Regions from separate parts of the Homo sapiens genome. Here region 2 is linked to region 1. Evidence: promoter capture Hi-C in human tissues and cell types (Jung and others, 2019). All regions are on one chromosome and are shown on one strand. Each heading gives the region's core, a stretch centred on a gene start or on the middle of the fragment in contact. The rest is flanking DNA. Distances are from core to core; before and after follow the strand shown.

Region 1 (5,258 bases), core at 990-3,489:
GGGGCAGATTTGATGTTTGATGGATAAACAAATGAATGCAAGTAATTCCTGAAGGCTTTTACATCTAATAAAGAAAACAGAAAAATGTCAAGAAGACTGCTTGCTTTAGCAGGGCATTCTCAATTTTATATCATAAAAATCCAACTTAAATTTGCTGAGTCAAAGAGGGCATTTATTTGCTGATAAATGGCAAACCCAACCATGCAGAATCCCAGAGCCCAACCCGTGTAGTTAGGCCTTTATCCCTTTCCTCAGTTCCCCACTCAGTTTGTCTCATCTTGGTTTCATTCTTAATCCAGGGCCTCTCCACATGACAGACAAGATGGTCCACCAGTACCCCCAGGTTCATATCCCATTTTTAGTATGCCAGCAGTGGCCACACATTTCCAGGGAAGACGCTGATGGCCCTGTCTGCCCATTCTTGAACCAAATACTTTGGTTGGCAGAGAGGGTACTTCAAATGGACAGCATGGTTGACAAGCCCACCCCAAGCCAGTCAGCAGGGTAACACTAGTGTCGGCCTCACCAGGAACACATCGGAATTGGCAAGAAATCTCCTTTAGAAACCAGAAGGAGATAGGAAAGTACAGTGGATTACGATGTCTTCTATGTCTTCCTTCCTATCTTTTTTTTTAAACAGGGTCTCATTCTGTCACCCAGGCTGGAGTGCAGTGGTACATTCATGGCTTACTACAACCTCTGCCTCCTGGGCTCTAGTGATCTTCCTGCCTCAGCCTCCCAAGTAGCTAGTACTACAGACGTGGGCCACCATGCCCAGGCTAATTTTTATATTTTTTTTGTAGAGATGGGGTCTCAGTATGTTGTCCAGGCTGGCCTCAAACTCCTGGGCTCATGCAATCCACCTGCCTCGGCCTCCCAAAGTGCTGGGATCACAGGTGTGAGCCATCACACCCGGCCCTTCTAGGTCTTTCTATCTTCCTGCTCCACCATCCTTACTTAGCATGATGGTTTTTGCATTCATTTATGTAACTTAATGGATGCAAGACACATGCCACAGATCTGAACAGAATAAATGTTTTCAAGGCAGAAAGAAAGGGGGAGGGGAAGTCCCAGCCTTAGCTGTCCTTTTTATGAGGAAAGCAAAAACTTTTCCAGAAACACCTCAAAAAGACTTCCCCTTAAATATCACTGGCCAGCACTGGGTCACACTGCTACCCCTTGTGGCAAGTGAGGCTAGAAATTCTAGTTTTGACAAAGTGAAATATAATTTCATGACTAGTTTGGACCAAAACTGATTGCCCCACCCCTCCATCGACCTCTCCTGGAGACTAATTACACTTGCTCTGAGCCCCCAGAGCATGCTGGGCCTCTCTGATCCTAGCGACATATGCACTGTACAGCGGTTGCTTTTTTTTTTTTTTTTTTTTTTGAGACGGAGTCCCCCTCTGTCGCCCAGGCTGCAGTGCAGTGGCGCTATCTCGGCTCACTGCAAGCTCTGCCTCCCGGGTTCACGCCATTCTCCTGCCTCAGCCTCCCGAGCAGCTAGGACTACACGCACCCACCACCACGCCCGGCTAATTTTTTTTTTTGTATTTTTAGTAGAGACGGGGTTTCACTGTGTTAGCCAAGATGGTCTCGATCTCCTGAACTCGTGATCCGCCCGCCTCGGCCTAGCGGTTGCTCATTTTTTGCAGCCCCCACCCCTTGCTAGGATTTCTAAACAGGTGCCCACATCCTTGTATCCCCAGCACTTAACACAGTGCCTAGCTTCATTCCACCGGTTTATTTGAGTGACTGCCATGTGCGAGGCTCTGTGCAAATAAAGCAGGCGATTGGTGAACATTTCCTGGATGGATGGAGGGATGGATGGATGGACTGATGGGTGGATAGATGGATGGATATCATCACTGTGCAGTGGTTCCCATCAGGGCAGCCTGAGTCTCCCCACCCCCTCCCCTCATCCCTCTCACTCCAGGCTGTCATTTCACTTTCCTAAAAGCCTTCCCTTTGCCCATGATGCCAATGACTAGCTCTGTCCTGAAGCAATAGCTAGTACTTTCCCTCCTTCCTGCCACCTAGCATCCAGCCGAACCTTGAATCAATACCAGTAAAATGGGTGTGAACGGAAGGAGGCTGCTCATTATTTGCCATTATTTACCTCTGAGTCTGTGCATTCCCATTCCTTCCCATATTAATTCTCTCCCGCGCAACACCCCCCCCCCCCCGCCCCCCCATCCTTGGGAACTGGTTCAACCAGAGTACAACCAGCTCATCTGCATCTGGCCCTAAAGAACCTGCGGCAGCCAGAGGCGGAGGAAGAGAGAAGGCTGCATAGGAGCTGCAGCGCGGTGCGGCCAGCACACACCCCGGCCCGCGAGGCCCCGGGCTCGCCCATGAGGCCTCTGCCCAGCGGGAGGAGGAAGACCCGAGGCATCTCCCTAGGACTCTTCGCCCTCTGCCTGGCCGCAGCCCGCTGTCTGCAGAGTAAGCTCCGGGGGACGCCCCGGGTGCTGGGGGAGCGGGAATGGGTAGGGGGGCACGGGCGGGGCCCCGGGGTCTAGCAGCGGCCCCCCTGGCCCTCGCCCACCTTGTCCGGCTGAGGGCGCGCGGTGAGCTCGGCTGGCAGGCACCGCGCCGCTTCCTCGTGGGGCTGGGCGAGGCCTGGAGACCCGGCGCCGACCGTAGCGGGAGGGGCTGGGCAAAGCAGAGGCTACCGGCCGCGGCGCCCCGGCCCACTTCGGGGCGCCCGCCCCACCCGGCGAGCCCGGCCTACGGTTATCAGAGCTGGAAGGTGGCCCAGAGATAACCGGCTCCCAGCCCTGTGGCCGCCGCCTCTGCAACATTTTTTATTTCTTTTTCCTGGAATAACCAGATTGCAGTCCGTGCGCCGCCCCCTACTGTGGGGACCCCTCCATGGCCTTCCTGGTCATCTCCCAGGAGAATAATCAGGCCTCCTTATCAGTCAGACGAACCCACAGCAGCCTGCTCCCGTGAGAAAAACGGTTCTGGGGTTTGGGTTGGGCGTTGTGGCCTGAAGTCCCCAGGCTGGAGGTGGTCCTCGCGACCAGCGCACTGAGTAGATTTGCTTTGGATGGCCGGACCCGGAATCCCCAGCCTGGTGAGCCTGGATGCGAAGCGTAGTCCCAGAGGCTCTCTTGGACACAAACAACAGATCTTAGCACAGTTTTACTTTCTCATTTAATCATTACCATTCGCACTCCCATCTTACACATGGGCCAACTGAGGTTTAGAGAATGACAGAGCAGGGCCGCTGGAGGTGAGAGGCCTTGTAGTAAGAGCCAGCACTTATTAAGCATTTATGCATTCACCATCCCTCAGACTTTACAAGACCTCTCTCATTTAGTCCTTAGGGCAACCCTAATAAACTACTCTTATTCCTGTTTCACAAGTGAGGAAACTGAGGCACAGAAATGTTATAAGCCAATCGCAGGGGCTCATGCCTGTATTCCCAGCATTTTGGGAGGCCGAGGCCAGCGGATCCCTTGAGTCCAGGAGTTCAAGACCAGCCTGGGCAACATGGCAAACTGTCTGTAGTAAAAATATGAAAAAATTAGCTGGGTGTGGTGGCCTGTGCCTGTAGGCCCAGCTACTGGGGTGGGCGGCGGGGGAGCTGAGGTGAAAGGATCACTTAAGCCCAGGAGATTGAGGCTTCAGTGAGCCCTGATTGTGCCACTGCACTCTAGCCTGGGGAACAGAATGAGACCTTCTCCAAAGCGAAAGAAAAAGAAAAGAAGAGAGAGAGAGAAAAAATAATATTATGTTAACTTATACAAGGTGACTGAACGATCTAACATTTTTGACCTTTACACCTCTCTGGCTAGAACCCAGCTGCAGAGGTTGCAAATCTCAGAAACCCAGTAAGACAGAGGCATGTTCCTCTGGCAGCTATGGATCAAGAAAACAGTTGGTTGTTAGTCTCGAGCAGGTGGATGGGTGTGTTTGTCATTGCAGTGGCTTTTTATATTATTTCTCAAACCTTTATCACTTGTTTCTAATCACCATACTTACACATCTGTTCAGATACCCCTCATGCTCAGGGACCAGCCATTTGCAATAGCGTATAATTCATTCATTCACTCACTCATTGACTGTACCCTCTCCCTGCAGGAAGCAGGCCACAGTGGGTACCTAGGATATGGTGGTTCACTGTTTCGTTCTCAGGAAGCTCAGGTGTCATGGAGAAGACAGACATGCAAACAAGAGGGGCAGCCTTGCAATGGCAAGCCTTGAGAGGCAAGAGGTGCCATGTTCTAGAAGCCCTAGCGTCTCAGAATCCAGACTTGAGGAAACTTCCCCAAAACAGCCCCACCTGCCCATACCTGCCAGATGGGTAGGAGCAGCTCGGGGGACAGGACAAAGGGAATGCAGGGTGTACCAGACAAAATGGCACATGCAAAACCTGGAGGCCAGGTAAAAGTTTGCAGTTTTCCATTGAGACCTGTCTCATGGACAGCAGTAAGCTCCAGGAGGGCAAGCACTCTGTTTCAACTCAGGGTCCCTAGCACTTGCCCAGTGCTAGCCAGGGCCTGCGCCCTTAAAAGACGTTAAATGAATGTGTGCCTGCCTGAATGAAGCCTGTGCTTTGGAGCCAGTCATAATGATGAAGAGTAGGCCTCCTCCTTCCTACCAGTTCCCTGCATGCTCTACCTCTTCTGCCTGTGTCAAAAGCTTCATCCAGAACCTCTGATATTCACTATTTACCCTGAAGTCTGAGTTAAAGCATGCCAAACACCCTGCTTTTGAAACCTTTCCCCTACAAATGTATGGGTCCTCCCAAGATTCATATATTCAAGCCCTAACCTCCAATGTGATGGTATTTGGAGGAGGGGATTTAGGGAGGTGATTTGGTTTAGATGAGGTCTTGAGGTGGGATCCCATAATGGGATTAGTGTCCTTATAAGAAGAGGAAGAGAGACCAGAGCTCTCCCTCCCAGCTGTGTGAGGACACAGCAAGAAAATGCATATTAGCAAGCCAGGAAGAAGGCCCTCACCAAAAACTGGCACCTTGATCTTGAGCTTCCCAGCCTCTCCAGAACTGTGAGAAATAACTGTGGTTTAAGCCACATCAGTCTATGGTCATCTGTTACAGCAGCCCAAGCTGACTAGGACAAGGACTTATGGGCTCGGAAAGCTGGCAGGCCTCCCCACCAGACCAGGCACCTTTCTAGAACATTTGTTCATGTCCTTTCCCAGTACATTAGCCATCAGGCTCACGAGTACCCACCCAGTGCTCCCTCTCATTCGGAAGTACTTGATCCAAGACTATAGTAGGATAG
Region 2 (5,024 bases), core at 2,389-4,888, 660 kb before region 1:
AATGAGTAAGACAGATGTGTGTATAGAGCTTGCAATCCAGGTACAGAAGAGAGAACAAAATCTCAGCATTTTAAAATCGACATTTTAAAAGATTGAAACTGAATTGTAGTAGTGAACCACTTATGGACATAGCACTTTTCCCTGGCCTTTAAATCTGGACCTATAGGACATGACTACTACAGTCAAGGACTGAATTGTTTGTTTTAAACACTGTAGCTACATTTCTTCTCAGAAATGTAGCTCAGCCCAGATGTCAGAACTCCAGAGAAACAAAAGAGCTCTGTGCTATTGGGCCTACCCATATCCCTAATCTCTCCGGTCAGCCTCTCTCTCTTGCTCTCTGAGCTCCAGACACATGGCCCTTCTGTTCATTCCTACCTTTGCACATGCTGTTTTTGCTACCTGAGCTGCCTTTCTCCTGGTTTTGCCTATATAACTTCTACTCAAATTTTAGGTCTTGGCTTAAACATTAGTTCTTTAGGAAAACTTTCCCTTACTCCACAATCTGGAAATGACTTTTTATCATGGCACCCTCCTTTATTCTTTCATTTTACTTATTGCAATTTGGATACAGCTTCATTTTTTTATACACAATTATTTGTGTAGCTATTTATTTAATATATAACTTCTTTACCAGATCACAAACCCCATGAGGGCAGGGATGTTGTCTCTTCAGTTCATCAGAGTCTTAGAACAGAGCTTGGCATGATAATAAATGCTCAACAAATGTGTGTTCAGTTAGAACTAAGCACTGATAAATTGGAGCTCTAACTAAAGACTGTGTGCATGTCTGTCAATGCAGTTATACGGTCACTGTGAATGTCAGTGAACCGATAGTTCTAATCTCAGTATCCAAAAGCTCAATTCAAGGAACCAATGAAAACCTAAACAACCAAATACTTTAGTTGTTTATGATTTGATTTTAAACTCACATATATATGGGCAGGTATCTCATCTTTTCCAGACTAATCAATAAACAACACAAGTGAGTCAATTTGACGGGGATGCAGACTGGCAAAAATGGGGCAAGAGACCTGCTGCTTCCGGCAGTGATCCCAGGTCATTCCTGGTCATGAAGACCCAGACACACCCTCAGACATGAAAAAGTTAGAATTACATACTTTCAGGGTCTCATTCTTGTTTCCCCAAAGTTGGAAGTCATATGAATAAAATATGGGATCAGCATTACTGAAGCCTAACTTTGGTTTAATCTGTTAAATCATGATCTTCAGGCAGAAAAAGGGTTCACAAACTTGGCTAGGAAGAAAACTAAGCCTATAACAGAACAACAGAAAGGAAAAGACCACCTGCTCTCAGTTCAGATCTCCTGACAAATTTCAGCCCTGGTGCTAGGAAAATGCACAGAAGAAATCATTAAAGGTGATTTGAAGAATTGTGGTAATTGGGAGAGTACTAAGGAGCTAGTACGGGTAAATATCTCCTGCTCAGGAGAAGAAAGGAAAGGAGGGGAGAGGGGGCAGAACTTTCAGGCAGAAAAAGGTTTCACAAACTTGGCCAGGAAGGAAAGGAGAGGAGAGGAAAGGAAAAAGGGAAGGAAAGGAGAAAGGACAAAAGAAAGGAAAGGAGAAAGGAAAGAGGAAAGGAAAAGGAAAAAAAAGGAGAAAGGGAAAGGAAAGGAAGGAAAAGGAAAGGAAGGGAAAGCAAATTTAAAAAAGAAAGAAGGAAGGAAGGGAAAGAGAGAGAGAAAGAAAATTCTACAAACTCTACCATAGCAGTTTGATGTTGACCTTTACCAGCATTTTAAGTGGATTGGTCGATAGATGTCTTGTGTGTATAGAGGATGAGAAGCTGTGATCACTGAGAAGTATGACTAAGAACAGTATTATTCCAGAATTTCTTTTGAAACAATTATTATTCCACGTTTTTTGGATTTTTTTTTGTTGTTTTTTGTTTTTTTTCCTGAGAGCTAATAACAATTGCATCTTATATATATTATTATTTCTCTTTCTCACAATGACCTATGGGCAAGTATAATTATTCCTGTTTTATAGTTGAGAAAGTAGCTTCCTTGAGTCATAAAACTAAAATAATGAAAATGAGAAGCCACACCTACCTGAGTCTCCCAAGCTCCTACGGTTATTACAAATTATTCATAGTTTATTACAACGCACAGTTATAGATCCACCACACTCTACTAATCAGTTCATACCTAGAATACAGGTTTCAGTGATATGATACACTGGAGATTGTTGGAAGAAGTGGCCAGCCAGCCAGGTTAGAGCACTACAAGTGATCCTAAAGGTGACATTGGCCAGGCGCGGTGGCTCATGCCTGTAATCCCAACATTTTGGGAGGCTGAGGTGGGCAGATTACTTGAGGTCAGGAGTCCAAGACCAGCCTGGCCAACATGGTGAAACCCCATCTCTACTAAAAATACAAAAATTAGCCAGGCGTGATGGTGCATGCCTGTGGTCCCAGCTACCTGGAAGGCTGAGGCCAAAGAATTGCTTGAACCCAGGAAGGGGAAGTTGCGGTGAGCCGAGATCGCGCCACTGTACTCCAGCCTGGGCAACAGAGTAAGACTCTGTCTAAAAAAAAAAAAAAAAAAAAAAAGGCAAAAATAAATAAAAAATAAAGGTGACATTAAGTCTATGAAAGATTTGGTTGGTGCTCAAGGAGCTGCCTTTATATAATTCAAGGATGTTTACAAGCAAACAACCACACTTCGTGTTTGAGAGCAGGACTGTGATTAGGGAATATAGGGAATAGAAGCTGTAAAGAGACTGAAGACTTTTCCAATAATTACAGACATTTGAAAAATTGACTGAGTACTTTGTGCTTGTGCGAACAGCCTGTCTCTACTTAGGCTGAGTCCCTAAAAGGAGGTTCTGAGGGAGGCTGAGGCAGGAACTCTTTCATTTTCCCACCCCAACTTTGTGAGCTTGTGAAAGTTTGGACACCTGCCTTAAGTCATTAGTTCTTTCCCTGAAACTTGTGGAATGCCTAGCATGTAATAAAGACTCAATATGTTAAATTGATGAGTGAATGTTAATCCCACCTTTTACTCCTAGAGCCACAGGACTAAAGAAACTTAGAAACTAGCATCTTTAATGGGGAAATTTCCTGATAGAATTTGAAGTAGGAGGCTGGGCGTGGTGGCTCATGCCTGTAATCCCAGCACTTTGGGAGGCTGAGGCGAGCGGATCACTCGAGGCCAGGAGTTGAAGACCAGCCTGACCAACATGGCGATACCCTGTCTCTACTAAAAATGCGAAAACATTAGCCGGGCATGGTGGTGTGTGCCTGTAATCTCAGCTACTCAGGAGGCTGATGCATGAGAATTGCTTGAACCCAGGAGGCTGAGTTGCAGTGAGCCCAGATCATGCCACTGCACTCCAGCCTGGCAACAGAGTTGTCTAAAAATAATAATAATCATAATAATTTTAAGTAGGAGTAAAGAATCTCCATTACCCAAGTATACTGAATTTATGTGCTCTAAGCAAGGCCTCTGCATGCTGCTGATAATAATAACAAAAGGAATGACATTTCATAGTCATACTGGAGCTGATGCCCAGGGAAGAGGCCCCTTTCACCAGGAGGCAGTAGTTCTGTAACTTCTTGATGAGGTCTCTGGGGAGGAGAGTGTGTGGTCCACCAAGCACAAGTATGGAGGTGCTTCAGCCCAACCCTCCCTCCTGGGGCCTCCCGGTGCAGAGGAACCTTGGAGAAACCCAGTCTGCTCTCCAGAGATGCAGTCAAGAAGGTGCTGCAGGAAGGCTGGAAACTACTCTGTTCCTCTGGCTTATTCTTCTCACCATCATTCCTTAGCACCTACTGAAGACCTGGGGGTGCAAGAGGCTGTGAAATATCTGTTAATTCATGAAACAGTATGGGTGAATAACAACCTGGCTAGGACTCAAATTACAACCACTTCCATTATGGCTGTGGGCCAGAACTGTCTTTACCTATTTGAATATTGTGTGTTTGTCAGGGCAGAGAGCAAAGAACAGTGCGTTAAAATGTAGCCCATAATTATGAGATTCTAAAAGGATTGGGTAATTGTAGACTGAGAGTCCAAGAGATGGAAGTTAAAAGTGATTTTAGTATTTCGCCTGCACTGACTGGCTGTGGCAAGTCTCTTTCCTCTGGTCTAGATCTCAATTTCCTCATCTGTAAAATGAAATAACTGGCAAAATGAGCTGCGTGTTTCTAAGGGTGTATACGCATACATACATACATACACATATACATATACAAATGTGTATATAAAATGGTATACATATAAATGTGTGTGTGTGTGTGTGTGTGTTAATTCCTTTCAGAATAACGCCACTATGATTAAATTGGAGCTGATGCCCAGACCCTGAATTCAGGCAGGCTATCGGGAAGGAGGGCTTGGAAAGATGGACCTATGCTTTCTGCCACAGTGCCATCATCTCTGGTTCTGCCAAAAGCAGCAGCTCCACCTCCCCTGCCCCAAACCTTCTCAGCCAGTCCCACTGCGGTTTCCCCCAATTGCCCTGTCACTCGTTCTCCACGCCCCTCCTCCCAGTAGCGTCCGCGGCTGGAGCTGAACTCACACTGCTGGCCGTGCTCTAGGGGGCCGCGGCCGGGTTCCCCGCGCGCCCCGCACCCCAGCCCTGCTGGCGGAGGAGGCTGCTCCTCTTCGCGACCCGCCTTGGGCGCCACCACTGCGGTCACCACCACCGCCTCCTCGCCTGTCATGCCGCAGCGGTCTTCCGAGAGCCCTGGGCACGGTTTCCTTCTCAGCTCAGTCGCAGGCAGCCCAGCATGCGAGGCGTCTCGGGTTGCCATAGTGACTGCCGATTCTCCCCGCCCCCAGCCGGCCTTCCGAGGCCCTAGGTATTCCGCGCACCAAAGAAGGTGCTGAAGTTATGGGGCTGGGGTTATTATTATCATTGACCAAAGCAAAGGACTTTCCATTAATTTCTCGTTAATTTATTGTTAATTTCTCACACGAGCTCGGCAAGAGAGGCTTTACTATTCCCAGAGAATCCGAGATTCAGAAAAAGCGAAGGAAACTGCATAAGGCCTCATAGCTA

The links. Contacts are between HindIII fragments. The study calls those that stand out against the background at their distance.
Region 2: a fragment that was not itself captured here is called in contact with the fragment with the promoter of VSTM5 in region 1 in 1 of the 25 tissues and cell types used here (heart left ventricle).

The regions. Positions count from the first base shown.
Region 1 is chr11:93,847,599-93,852,856 of GRCh38, reverse strand. It overlaps VSTM5 (V-set and transmembrane domain containing 5), which reads left to right and starts at 2,239. Exons shown (of 4, transcript NM_001144871.2): 1 at 2,239-2,445. The coding sequence starts at 2,355. The HindIII fragment of the contact is 15,680 bases long and covers 1-5,258 here.
Region 2 is chr11:94,512,191-94,517,214 of GRCh38, reverse strand. C11orf97 (chromosome 11 open reading frame 97) reads right to left here and starts at 4,754. Exons shown (of 4, transcript NM_001190462.2): 1 at 4,542-4,754. The coding sequence starts at 4,686. It also overlaps a transcript of MRE11 not described here. RefSeq lists a silencer at 4,506-4,725 and an enhancer at 4,578-5,024. The HindIII fragment of the contact is 8,524 bases long and covers 1-5,024 here.